Linked DNA regions of Homo sapiens: regions 1, 2 and 3 are each linked to region 4. Evidence: promoter capture Hi-C in human tissues and cell types (Jung and others, 2019). All regions are on one chromosome and are shown on one strand. Each heading gives the region's core, a stretch centred on a gene start or on the middle of the fragment in contact. The rest is flanking DNA. Distances are from core to core; before and after follow the strand shown. Region 1 overlaps SEZ6 (seizure related 6 homolog). Region 2 overlaps PHF12 (PHD finger protein 12). Region 3 has its middle 17 kb from the start of PIPOX. Region 4 holds the start of MYO18A (myosin XVIIIA).

Evidence for each region. Contacts are between HindIII fragments. The study calls those that stand out against the background at their distance.
Region 1: a fragment that was not itself captured here is called in contact with the fragment with the promoter of MYO18A in region 4 in 1 of the 25 tissues and cell types used here (adrenal gland).
Region 2: a contact is called between a fragment that was not itself captured here and the fragment with the promoter of MYO18A in region 4, in 2 of the 25 tissues and cell types used here (H1 embryonic stem cells and dorsolateral prefrontal cortex).
Region 3: a contact is called between a fragment that was not itself captured here and the fragment with the promoter of MYO18A in region 4, in 2 of the 25 tissues and cell types used here (IMR-90 fibroblasts and lymphoblastoid cells).

The regions. Positions count from the first base shown.
Region 1 is chr17:28,964,251-28,966,950 of GRCh38, forward strand. All of the region lies in intron 4 of SEZ6 (seizure related 6 homolog), which reads right to left. All of the region lies in intron 1 of LOC105371716 (a long non-coding RNA gene), which reads left to right. Among named protein-coding and RNA genes, the nearest start is that of PHF12, 14 kb to the left of the region's middle. The HindIII fragment of the contact is 3,586 bases long and covers 1-2,700 here.
Region 2 is chr17:28,930,870-28,933,569 of GRCh38, forward strand. The region is part of intron 2 of PHF12 (PHD finger protein 12); the gene reads right to left. All of the region lies in intron 1 of LOC101927018 (a long non-coding RNA gene), which reads left to right. Among named protein-coding and RNA genes, the nearest start is that of PHF12, 19 kb to the right of the region's middle. The HindIII fragment of the contact is 7,253 bases long and covers 1-2,700 here.
Region 3 is chr17:29,025,118-29,028,161 of GRCh38, forward strand. No RefSeq gene overlaps it. Among named protein-coding and RNA genes, the nearest start is that of PIPOX, 17 kb to the right of the region's middle. The HindIII fragment of the contact is 5,150 bases long and covers 1-3,044 here.
Region 4 is chr17:29,178,919-29,181,834 of GRCh38, forward strand. MYO18A (myosin XVIIIA) reads right to left here and starts at 1,480. Exons shown (of 42, transcript NM_078471.4): 1 at 1,395-1,480. RefSeq lists silencers at 1,154-1,203, 1,324-1,373, 1,339-1,559. The HindIII fragment of the contact is 14,487 bases long and covers 1-2,916 here.

The sequences.
Region 1 (2,700 bases), core at 190-2,689, 210 kb before region 4:
TTGGGGCCAGAGGAAGCACTAGGAGTTCCAAAACAACTCCAATCTCCTCCCTAGAAGGTTACCAGTGATATTTCCAGCAGCCTGGGCTGGTTAGTGGAGCAGACAGAGCTGGAAATTAGAAGGGTTAGGTTCTGGCTCAAGCTTTATGACACTTTAGGCAGGTTATTTAATCTTTGTGTGTGTGTTTCCTCATTTGTTAAATGAGGTTTAAAATCCTAGCCTACCTACAGGGTTACTGTGAGAAGAAATGATAGAGTATTTTATCTAGCTTGGTATCTCTGGTACCCAGCTGATATTATATCTTCAGGAAATGCTTATTGAATGACTCGTAGACATGAAAGCACTTGAAATAGTGAAAAACCTATACAGATGTAAAGTGTTGATACTGTTTTTCCTTTAGGGAATAAATATGAATTGCAGCAGCAAAGAGTGAAATCAGACAGTAAAGGCTTTCCCAGTATTCACTGAGAAATGCTAAAAAGCTTGATGCCAATGGCCATGGACTTCTTTTAAAACCAGAATGGTGGCCGGGCCGGTGTCTCATGCCTGTAATCCCAGCACTTTGGGAGGCCGAGGTGGGCGGATCACCTGAGGTCGGGAGTTCGAGACAAGCCTGACCAACATGGATAAACCCCGTCTCTACTAAAAATACAAAATTAGCCGGGCATGGTGGCGCATGCCTGTAATCCCAGCTACGGGGGAGGCTGAGGCAGGAGAATCGCTTGAACCCGGGAGGTGGAGGTTGTGGTGAGCTGAGATCACTCCATTGCATTCCTGCTTGGGCAACGAGAGCAAAACTCCATCTCAAAACAAACAAACAGCCGGGAGTGGTGGCTCATGCCTGTAATCCCAGCACTTTGGGAGGCCGAAGTGGGCGGATCACCTGAGGTCAGGAGGTCGAGACCAGCCTGGCCAACATGGAGAAACCCCATCTCTACTAAAAATACAAAAATCAGCCGGACGTGATGGCAGGCGCCTGTAATCCCAGCTACTCGGGAGGCTGAGGCAGGAGAATCGCTTGAACCCGGCAGGTGGAGGTTGCAGTGAGCCGAGATCGTGCCATTGCGCTCCAGCCTAGGGGACGAGAGCGAGACTTCATCTCAAAAAAACAAACTTACAAACAAACAAAATCCAGAATGGTGGTAGGCTGGGGCAAGGTGGGAGGATTGCTTGAGGCCAGGAGTTCAAGAGCAGCCTGGGCAACATAGTGAGGTCCCCATCTCTGTAAAAAATTTTTAAAAAATACCCAGGCATGGTGATGTGTACCTGTAGTCTTAGCTACTCAGGAGGCTGAAGTGGGATCGCTTGAGCCTAGGAGTTTAAGGCTGCAGTGAACTATGATTGCACCACTGCGCTCCAGCCTAGGTGACAGAGTGAGTCCCTGTTTCGAAAAACAACATCAAACAAACAAGAAAAAGATGGGGACGAGGGTAGGGAGGCAGTGCACTGCCTTCATGGAAGTTGGGGAAAGAACAAGTTGCCCTGGGAAAGCTGGTAGCTTTGGAATTGTCATACCAAATTTGACCAAATGGTGGCAGCAAATCCTACAAAACAATCTGGCATATCCCGATCCTGGGGTCAAGCTGGGGTGGTAGCTAAAAGGATCAACCCGGTGCAGTGGCTCACGCCTGTAATCCCAGCACTTTGGGAGGCTGAGGTGGACGGATGGCCTGAGGTCAAGAGTTCAAGACCAGCCTGGCCAACATGGCAAAACCCCATCTCTACTAATAAAATACAAAAATATTAGCTGGGCATGGTGGCAGGCGCCTGTTATCCCAGCTACTCGGGAGGCTGAGGCAGGAGAATCGCTTGGACCGGGGAGATGGAGGTTGCAGTGAGTCGATATCATGCCATTGCACTCCAGCCTGGGCGACAGAGTGAGACTCCATGTTCCAAAAAATAAAATAAATAAATAAAATAAAATAAAATAAAATAAAAGTGAAGATCCAGCTGGGCACGGTGGCTCACACCTGTAATCCCAGCACTTTGGGAGGCCGAGGCAGGTGGATAACAAAATCAGGAGTTCGAGACCAGCTAACATGGTAAAACCCCATCTCTACTAAAAATACAAAAAAAAAAAAAATGATCTGGGCATGGTGGCACGCGCCTGTAGTCCCAGTTACTTGGGAGGCTGAGGCAGGAGAATCGCTTGAACTCGGGAGGCAGAGGTTGCAGTGAGTGGAGATTGCGCTACTGCACTCCAGCCTGGGCGGCAGAGTGAGACTCTTTCTCAAAAAAAAGTGAAGATCCTGGCTTGCGTCTAAGAGGTGAGAGCAAAGGCCTGGAGGGGTCAAGGAGAGGCTGAGAGGCTTGTGCTACAGAGCCTGATAACCCTTGGGGTGGTAGGAAAAGTGAGGACTGTCTAGACTGAAGATCTTGGGTCTTGGGGTAGGGGGCAGCCCCACTGATGGTATCAGGTAAATGGGAGGAGAGGTCCATGCAAGGCCTCTGTTCCTGGGTGCCTTTGTGTGAATAGAAAAATGGGCCCTCTTTCTTCCCCCCCATTAAAAAGAAAAAGAAAAAGAAAAAGAGGCTGTCTCAGGGCAGACCAGGGTCCAGAAATTTGAGTTTTATGACTTTCACCTGTCCTGTTACTATGTCTGTGAAAGTGGGAGGAGAATTCCTCCTCTTCTGTCTCTCATGGGGCTCTGGAGAGAATGGTCGGTAAGTGGCTAGTTGTGCTTGGCAGGCAGTACAGGG
Region 2 (2,700 bases), core at 184-2,683, 250 kb before region 4:
AGACCAGCCTGGGCGACATGGTGAAACCCCACCTCTACTAAAAATACAAAAAATTAGCCAGGTGAGGCGGCATGAGCCTATAGCCCCAGCTACTTGTGGGGCTGAGGTGAGAGGATCACTTGAGCCTGGGAGGTAGAGCCGTGATCGTGCCACTGCACTCCAGTTTGGGCAACAGAGTGAGACCCTGTCTCAAAAATAACAACAACAAAAAACAAACAAACAAAACCACACATTCCTCAGAACTCTAGATAATGACCACAGGCTCCCTTTGTTAAGCCTGCCCTAAAGTATGGATAGGGGCTATGAATTTAGGGAGTAGTCCAGGGAAACCCAAGCATTGTCTCCCAGATGAAGACAAAACATTTAAAAGACTGAGGCCATCATTCCTTTTTTTTTTTTTTTTTGAGACGGAGTCTTGCTCAGTTGCCCAGGCTGGAGTGCAGTGGCGCGATCTTGGCTCACTGCAACCTCTGCCTCCAGGGTTCAAGCGATTCCCTTGCCTCAGCCTCCCGAGTAGCTGGGATTACAGGTTGCCCGCCATCACACCCGGCTAATTTTTATATTTTTAGTAGAGATGGGGTTTCACCATGTTGGCCAGGCTGGTCTTGACCTCCTAACCTCAAGTGATCCACCCACCTCAGCCTCCCAAAGTACTGGGATTACAGGCGTGAGCCACTGCACCTGGCTGAGGCCATCACTTCTTAAGATCTGCTTTTTTTTTGTTTGTTTTGAGATGTAGTCTCACCGTATCACCCAAGCTGGAGTTCAGTGGCGTGATCTCGGCTCACTGCAACCTCTGCCTCCTGGGTTCAAGTGATTCTCCTGCCTCAGCCTCCCGAGTAGCTGGGATTACAGGTGCCTGCCCCCATGTCCAGCTAATTTTTGTTTTTTTTTTAGAGATGGGGTTTCACCATGTTGGCCAGGCTGGTCTCGAACTCCTGACCTCAAGTAATCTGCCTACCTCGGCCTCCCAAAGTACTGGGATTACAGGTGTGAGCCACTGTGCCTGGCCAAGATTTGCTGCTTTCTTAGGGACAGAACATGCATCTTGAAATAACAAATTTGAAATGATGGTATCTTGGGAGAAGGCAGTAATATCTAAGATTAGATGGATAGGAAAGAAAGGTCTTAGAAAATGATCATCATAGGCATAGCTGGAACACAAGAATCACCCATCATAAAGCTTTCTCATGACCATGTTTCCTCTCTGCTTCAAGCAATTAATTCCTTTCAAGCTATTTAGAAGGCAGCTTTTCAATTCAAACTTCTATCTTTTTTTTGAGGCAGGGTCTCACTCTGTCACCCAGGCTGGAGTGCAGTGGGGCAATCTTGGCTCACTGAAGCCTTGACCCCCTAGGCTCAAGCAGTCCTCCCACCTCAGCCTCCCGAGTAGCTGGGACCACAGGCGCATACCACTACGCTGGGCTAAATTTTATATTTTTTGTAGAAATAGGGTTTCACTATGTTGCCGAAGGCTGGGTCTTGAACTCCTGGGCTCAAATGGTCCGCTTGCCTCTGCCTTCCAAAGTGCTGGGATTACACGTGTGAGCCAACACGCCTGGCTCAATGCAAATTTTTTAGAGGAAAGGGATTCATGAAATGGTTCCAGGAAAGACACTGTCATTGGGGTAAGCTCAGGAACCAATTCTGAAAGAGGCTGTTTTGCTCCATATCAGAAATACTGCTGACAGGGAAAGGATTCCAGGGAGAAAGGAGATTCTGCAGCCTCACGGTACTCATGTACTTATTCTGAGGACTCCCCACCTCAGCTGCCCATCTCAAAACTCCTTCCGCAGCTGGGTGTGGTGGCTCACGCCTGTAATCCCAGCACTTTGGGAGGCCAAGGTGGGTGGGTCACTTTAGGTCAGGAATTCGAGACCAGCCTGGCCAACATGGCAAAACCCTGTCTCTACTAAAAACACAAAAATTGGCTGGGTGTGGTGGTGTGCACTTGTAGTCCCAGCTACTGGGGAAGCTGAGGCAAGAGAATTGCTTGAACCCAGGAGGTGGAGGTTGCAGTGAGCCGAGACCGCATCACTGCACTCTAGCCTGGGTGACAGGAGATTCTTCCCAAAAACAAAAACAAAAACCCCTTCTTCCTTGGAAGAATGGTATTCCCATAAGCCTAGCGTGCAACTCTGAAAACAATTACATGCACACCAGAGTCTTTAAATCATGATATGCCTGTCAAGAAAAAAAGGCTCTGCCCTCGCTCCCTCTCATCCTCATGTATCAATGAAGACAGGGTCCTGGAGGCCGTCCTTTATAAGAAAAAATCATTAAAAGTTAAAAGTCACGTAACACTGAGATTACTCTACCAGAGTTTCAGCTGCTTAGCAGTGAAAACACTATAATGAGACAATGCTGCTTTTGTAAAGACATCAATGTGTTTCTTAAACTAAAGCCTAGAAATAGCATAGTGATAATTTCATTGACATCTAGGTATTACAGTTCACAAAGTATTTTAACAGATGTTCTTATTTGATCTTCACTACCATACTGTGAGATAATTCTTATTCCCATCATACAGGTGAGGAAACTGACTTATCTAAAGCCACTAAGTAGCAGAACTGGAACCCAAATCAAAGTTTCCTGGCTCTTTGAAATCTTGAGCCTAAGCTATTTTTGTTGTTGTTGTTTTGTTTTTGGTTCACTCTCAGGATATGCTTCAGAGCCCAAGTTGTTTTTTAAGAACCTTTA
Region 3 (3,044 bases), core at 303-2,802, 150 kb before region 4:
TGAAACCCCATCTCTACTAAACAAAATACAAAAAATTAGCCAGGCGTGGTGGCAGGCGCCTGTAGTCCCAGCTACTTGGGAGGCTGAGGCAGGAGAATGGCGTGAACCCAAGAAGTGGAGCTTGCAGTGAGCCGAGATCATGCCACTGCACTCTAGCCTGGGCAACAGAGGGAGACTCCATCTCAAAAAAAACAAAAAAAAAACTTCCCCTGACTGAGCTCAGGGACAGCACTGTGCCTGTGTTTTTACCAACATGCTTCCAGTCACTCTTCGTGTCTCTCTGCAGGCCGACCTTAGTGCTAAGGATCCTATCCAAGGTCAGACCGAGGGTAAGAGTCAGGCTACCGGGTCCAGAAGTTCACGTTCTTAAGTGCAGTGCCATTCTCCCCCTCCCTGAGTCTTCATGACTTTGCCTACCTAGGCTCCTATTCTGGAGGAGGGTGGTTACGAGCACAGACTCTGGAGGAAGGCGGCTGTGTTCTGAATCCTCTCACCAAGCCTCACTTTCCTCGTGTGTAAAATGGAGGTGTTAACAATAGTACCGACTCCATAGGATTGTGGTGAGATTAAATAAGTAAATATACTCCGGTTCTCAGAGCAATTCCTGGAGCATAGGATGCACTGTGTGTATTAGCTCATTTGTATTTTTCCCACTTCAATGAGCTGGTCTACGTGTGTATGAGCTCTTATTCCCAGCCTATTTCTATTCCACAGTCTGGTAGCAGCCACCCCTCCCAGCTGGCCTTGAACCTATTTCATCTCCCCTCTTGGGACGACCATCTCTGTTCCAGTCCACCTTATTTCCTAGCCCTCTTCCTCCCCTGCCCAGCCTGGCTTGGGGCGCCACCATCAGACCCCGCCACATAACCCTCATTCGTGGAAGCTTCCCTGAGACCCCCCAGAGTACCGTTGATGCATATCAGATTCCACCAGGTCTTTTGCCTGAGTTCTTCTTTTTTCTAAATTAAAAAAAAAAAGTATTGGTTGGTTTGTTTGCTTTTTAAGAGATGGGGTCTTGCTGCATTGCTTAGGCTAGATTTGAACTCCTGGGATCAAGTGATCTTCCCACCTCAGCCCCTGAGAAGTTGGGACTATATGCATGTGCCACTGTGCCCAGATTAAAATTTTATTTTTAATTGACAAATAATAATTGTATATATATTTATGGGGTACATTGTGATACTTTTATTTTATTTTTATTTTAGAGACAGGGTCCCACTGTCACCCAGGCTGGAGTGCAGTGGTGCGATTATAGTTCCCAGCAGTCTCGAACTCCTAGCAGTCCTCCCGCCTTAGCCTCCTGAGTAGCTGGGACCACAGGCATGCCGCACCGTGCCTGGCTAATTTTATTTTGTTTTATTTTTTGTAGAGATGGGGGTCTTGCTTTGTTGCTCAGACTGGTCTCAAACTCCTGGCCTCAAGCGGTCCTCTCTTCTCAGCCTCCCAAAGTTTTGGGGTTACAGACATGAGCCACTGTGCCCGGCCTGATGTTTCAATATATGTTTACAATGTGGAATGATTAAGTCAGGCTAATTAACAAATCCATCACATGATCTCACTTATATGTGAAATCCAAAAAAGTTAAAGTCATGGAAGTAGAGAGTGGAATAATGGTGGCTGGGCGCGGTGGCTCATGCCTGTAATCCCAGCACTCTGGGAGGCTGAGGCGGGCGGATCACCTGAGGTCAGGAGTTTGAGACCAGCCTGACCAACATGGAGAAGCCCCATCTCTACTAAAAAATACAAAAAATTAGCCGGGCATGGTGGTAGGCACCTGTAATCCCAGCTACTTGGGAGGCGGAGACAGGAGAATCACTTGAACCCAAGAGGCTGACGTTGCAGTGAGCCAAGATTGCACCGCTGTACTCCAGCCTGGGTGACAAGAGCGAAACTCAAAAAAAAAAAATGATGGTCACCACAGGCTCAGGGAGGGGGTTGGAGAGAGAGGAACTGTTGATCAAAGGGTACAGAGTGTGTGGTTTCTAGTAGGTCCTCTCATTCCCATGGACTTCACTGATTTGGGTGGCTCTTTTATCTCCTGTAATGGCCAGTACAGGAAACGCCCATTCCCTCAGTAACCAGCAGCACACTTTCGCATGTGGGAGAGCACCAAGAGAGATGACATCTCTGGGAGGGAAACAGAGTGGATAGTCCCCACTGGGGAAGGAACAAGGGACCGAGGAGTGAGAGGGATGTTCCTAATAACTAGCAGTGCGTCTCCATCCTAAGTCACTCATTCCTATACTTCAGTTTCCCAGCCTCCTTCCTCTGCTGACTCCCTGTGGGGAAGCTGCTCATTGTGTCCACCCTCAGTCCCCCAAGTTGCAGCTGTGAACTGGGACTTATGCGCAGCAGCCAAGAGACACCTCAGAATTCCCAAGTTTGGAACAGGAGGAAGGAGTCTGCCAAAGCAAGCGGTGAAACTAGATTTTGGAGAGGACTTCAAGTGTGGATGGTGAGAGGGTGGTCCTGGGGAAGGGAGACCTCTCTCTTCAGGGCAAGGCAGGCCTGGGGTCCCTGCAGCCTGGCCTGCATGCCTGCCCAGTGCCCCAGAGCCCTTCTGTTCAGGCCTGGCATCCCACAGAGGTGGCATTCTGCTCAGGAGCTTAGAGCACAGACGAAGAGGCAGGCATTGCCAGGAATTGATTTGCGGAAGCAGCGGGGGCTTTCTCTTCCTCCTTACTTCCTTGGTCTTTGATCTCCTGTCCTCCCTCCATAGTCCATTTTCCCCCTCCTTCCCTTGATTTATTCCTCTTTTTCTTTCTTTAGCTGAATCATAGCCACTCCCTAGAAGGCAAAGGCTGGGAGAGGCAGTTCTTTGTCCTCTTTTTCCCTTAACTAGGTGGGTCCTCGCTGTCCAGATCTCAGCCTCCTACCCAAGTCATGAGGCAGGATTTGGCCATGGATGGGGAAAGGAGACACACACACACACACACACACACACACACACACACACACATATCCAAGGCAAGAGCTGAAACAGGCAGAAAAATCAAGGAAAAGGGGAGAGGCAAAGAGAGAAAGCGTTCAGCCATCAGAAAGAC
Region 4 (2,916 bases), core at 230-2,729:
CAGTGCATACACACTTCCCAGAGCTCACTTGCCACAGGGGCACTGATGAGGCCTTCTCGGCCACAGACACGCCAGGGGCTCCAAAAGACAAGACGAACCCACACTAACTAGCCCAAGTCATTGGCAGGGTGAAGCAGGGAGGGAATCCAATTCTTTAATTCGGGGTGGCCATCTGAGGGAATGAAAGCCCTAGCCAGGACAGTCCCTCTCAGGAAGCATTCCCCCAGCCCTCCCCACACAAATACAAACTATGAGGCCAGCGCCAAACACATGCCCCATTGGCAAAGTGGTCAGGCAAAATGAATACCCGCTCAAAAACAAACTGGCTGTCTTCCTCCCCATCTCCCCCACCCCCCACCTCTAGCTCATTCTGGCCGCAACCTTTCCAACTAATCAGCAAGACACATGTGCCTTGCAGTAGGGCAACTCCCCCATCTCCACCCCCAAAACAAAGCCCCAATGCCTGGCCTGTCCCTGCGGGCCTTATCGCACCCAGGAACATGACCCACACTCCTGGCCGGGTTTGGGACCAAGGAGCGCACCCCCACTAACAAGGGGCAGGGTGAGGGGGCAGCCACCCCTACCACCTCCCCTTCCCATTGGCGAAACAACTGGCATGACAGGTTAGCAGGGCGGGGCGTCGGGGCGGTCTCTCCAGAGGCCTGGGGCAGCTTGTCCGACCTTCCCACACGCACCCCACCCCTCTGCAGGGAAAGGTGAGGTGAGCATTCAGTCTCAGGGCACAGCCTGCACTCCCTAATCCCCAAAGCCTGCCACCATTCACCCTCTCATCTTCTGTCCCAAGAGGAGGGGGCCCAGGGAAGCGGGGTCTCCATTGTTTTGCCAGCTGTCTAGCAGCTGCTCCTTTGAGAGGAGCCCGCAGTCTGCCCGGCAGTGAAAGAGTGAAGGCCGCTGGGAGGGATAAAAGGGTCGGTAGAGGTGCTCCCCTTCCCCGCTGCCTTCCTCAGCGCCCCGCTCTCTCGCTCGCTCCATCGTGGGGCCTGGACGGGGGCAGGAGAAGTCCCCCCACCCTCGAGGCTGCAGCCCCCACCCCGCAGCTCCGGGCCACCTGGGCGCCTCCAAGCCCCAAATCCCCCCACACTGAAGGCCACCCTGTCCTGCCTCCCTGCGCCCCCCAGGTTGGCTGGAAGGGCCGGTGGTTCCCCCTTCCCCGCCGCTCCCGATCGGCCCCCACCCCCGGGCGTCGAGCTCCACGGCGCCGCCAGGGACGGGAGCCGGGAGTCCGGGCCGCTGCTTCCAGGGGACGGGGGAGGAGGAGGAGGAGCCGGCGGGCCCCGCCGCCCGCCCGCCCTCCCTCCCGGCCGGAGCCCGCCCCGCCGCCCCACCAAGCCGGGCCCGCCACCGAGCGGCCGCCGCCGCCGACCGGCACTCACCGGCCACCGGAGCCCGCCCGGCAGGCAGCAGAAGCGGAGACGCGGCATCCAGCAGCCTCGGCCCGGTCAGGGATGGAGCAGAGCGCAGCGCGGCGCAGCTCAGCGCCGCCCCCAGCGACCGCGCAGGCCGAGCCGAAAGGGAGCTCCCTGCTGGCGGCTGTGGGGATAAACGCCCGGCCTGCCTGGCAGCGCCAGTGCGCGCCGCCAGACGTGGGCCAGGCGGGCCGGGCGCTGCCCTGGCAGCCTCCGTCCGCTGTGGACTCCGAAGCCCCTCTCGCTGTGTCTGAGAGAGGCCCTGCCTGGAGTTTCTGTCTGCACTGGGCACTGGAGGCTGTCCGAAAAGGGTCCGAAAGGGGCTGAGTGGCACTGCCTAGGACAGGCACCAGGGTCATGATGAACGTATAGAAGAGGGGCTGTCCAAGGCAGGCACCGAACTCTGCAGGCTGTGTTCAAGGTAGTGCTGTCTAAAGGAAGCAATTAAGTCTTACTGGCCGCCTCCTCCCAAGGTGGCTCTGCAGAGGCACACACAGGGCCCTGCTGGATGGTGCCCCAGGCTCAGTCCAGACCAGGTACTGCCTGCCATGTCCGAGATGGCACTGCCAGAATGCACTCCCCAAGGTAAAAACAGACTCCCAATAGCTTGGTCTGATACAGCCCTGCCTCAAAATGGAGTGGATCAAGAGGCGTACCAGGGCCCGGGAGCCATGGCTGTAAGTGCCACTCACTCCCTAAAGGAGTTCACCAATGCCAAGATTAACACTTTCAGAAGCTCTTTGGAATGCAGTCTGTCCCTGGGTCCACTGTGTGCTGTAAATATCAAGTGAGCTGCTGTACCCACCAAGAAGACAGTTTATACTTCCTGGGAGAGGCCAAGGGACATCCAGATACCAGGCCTCCAAGATAGGTGCTATGTCTAGAGTTTGGAGAAAGAAAGAAATGGGGACACTTCCCTGGGCAGTGTCCATGCTGGAGTGGGGTGTGCCAGAATGTGGAAGAAACTGAGTGGGGTGGTGCAGGAAGAAGGGTGTAGCAGACAAATGCTGCTACCTCCCTAGACAGCCCAAACAGGAACTTCTCCAGGCAAGGGCAGCCCAACCTGACAGACCAGGGAAGGCTGGAGCAAGGAGGCTCAGAAAGCAGAGAGTTGAGTAAGAGTTAGGGAGTTCCTGAGGAATAGACCCAGGCGGGATACACATTTTGGAATAACATGCAACTCAAATTCAATTTAACAAACTGCCTGCTAAGTGCCAAGTGCAGCCCCAGGCACTTGGGGTGACACAGAAGGAGATCAGACATGGCATATCTCCAGGGAAATCACATGGGGAACAGGTAGACCTGAGCTGTGACAGTAGTAGGGTTCACCATGCTGGCATTACTTGGATGATGAGATAGGTGCTATGATGGGAGGCTTATTTGGCTTGAGGAGTGAGAAGAGCAGCTTCAAAAACATGACATTTGAGGCCAGGCATGGTGGCTTATGCCTGTAATCCCAGCACTTTGGGAGGCTGAGGTGGGCAGATCA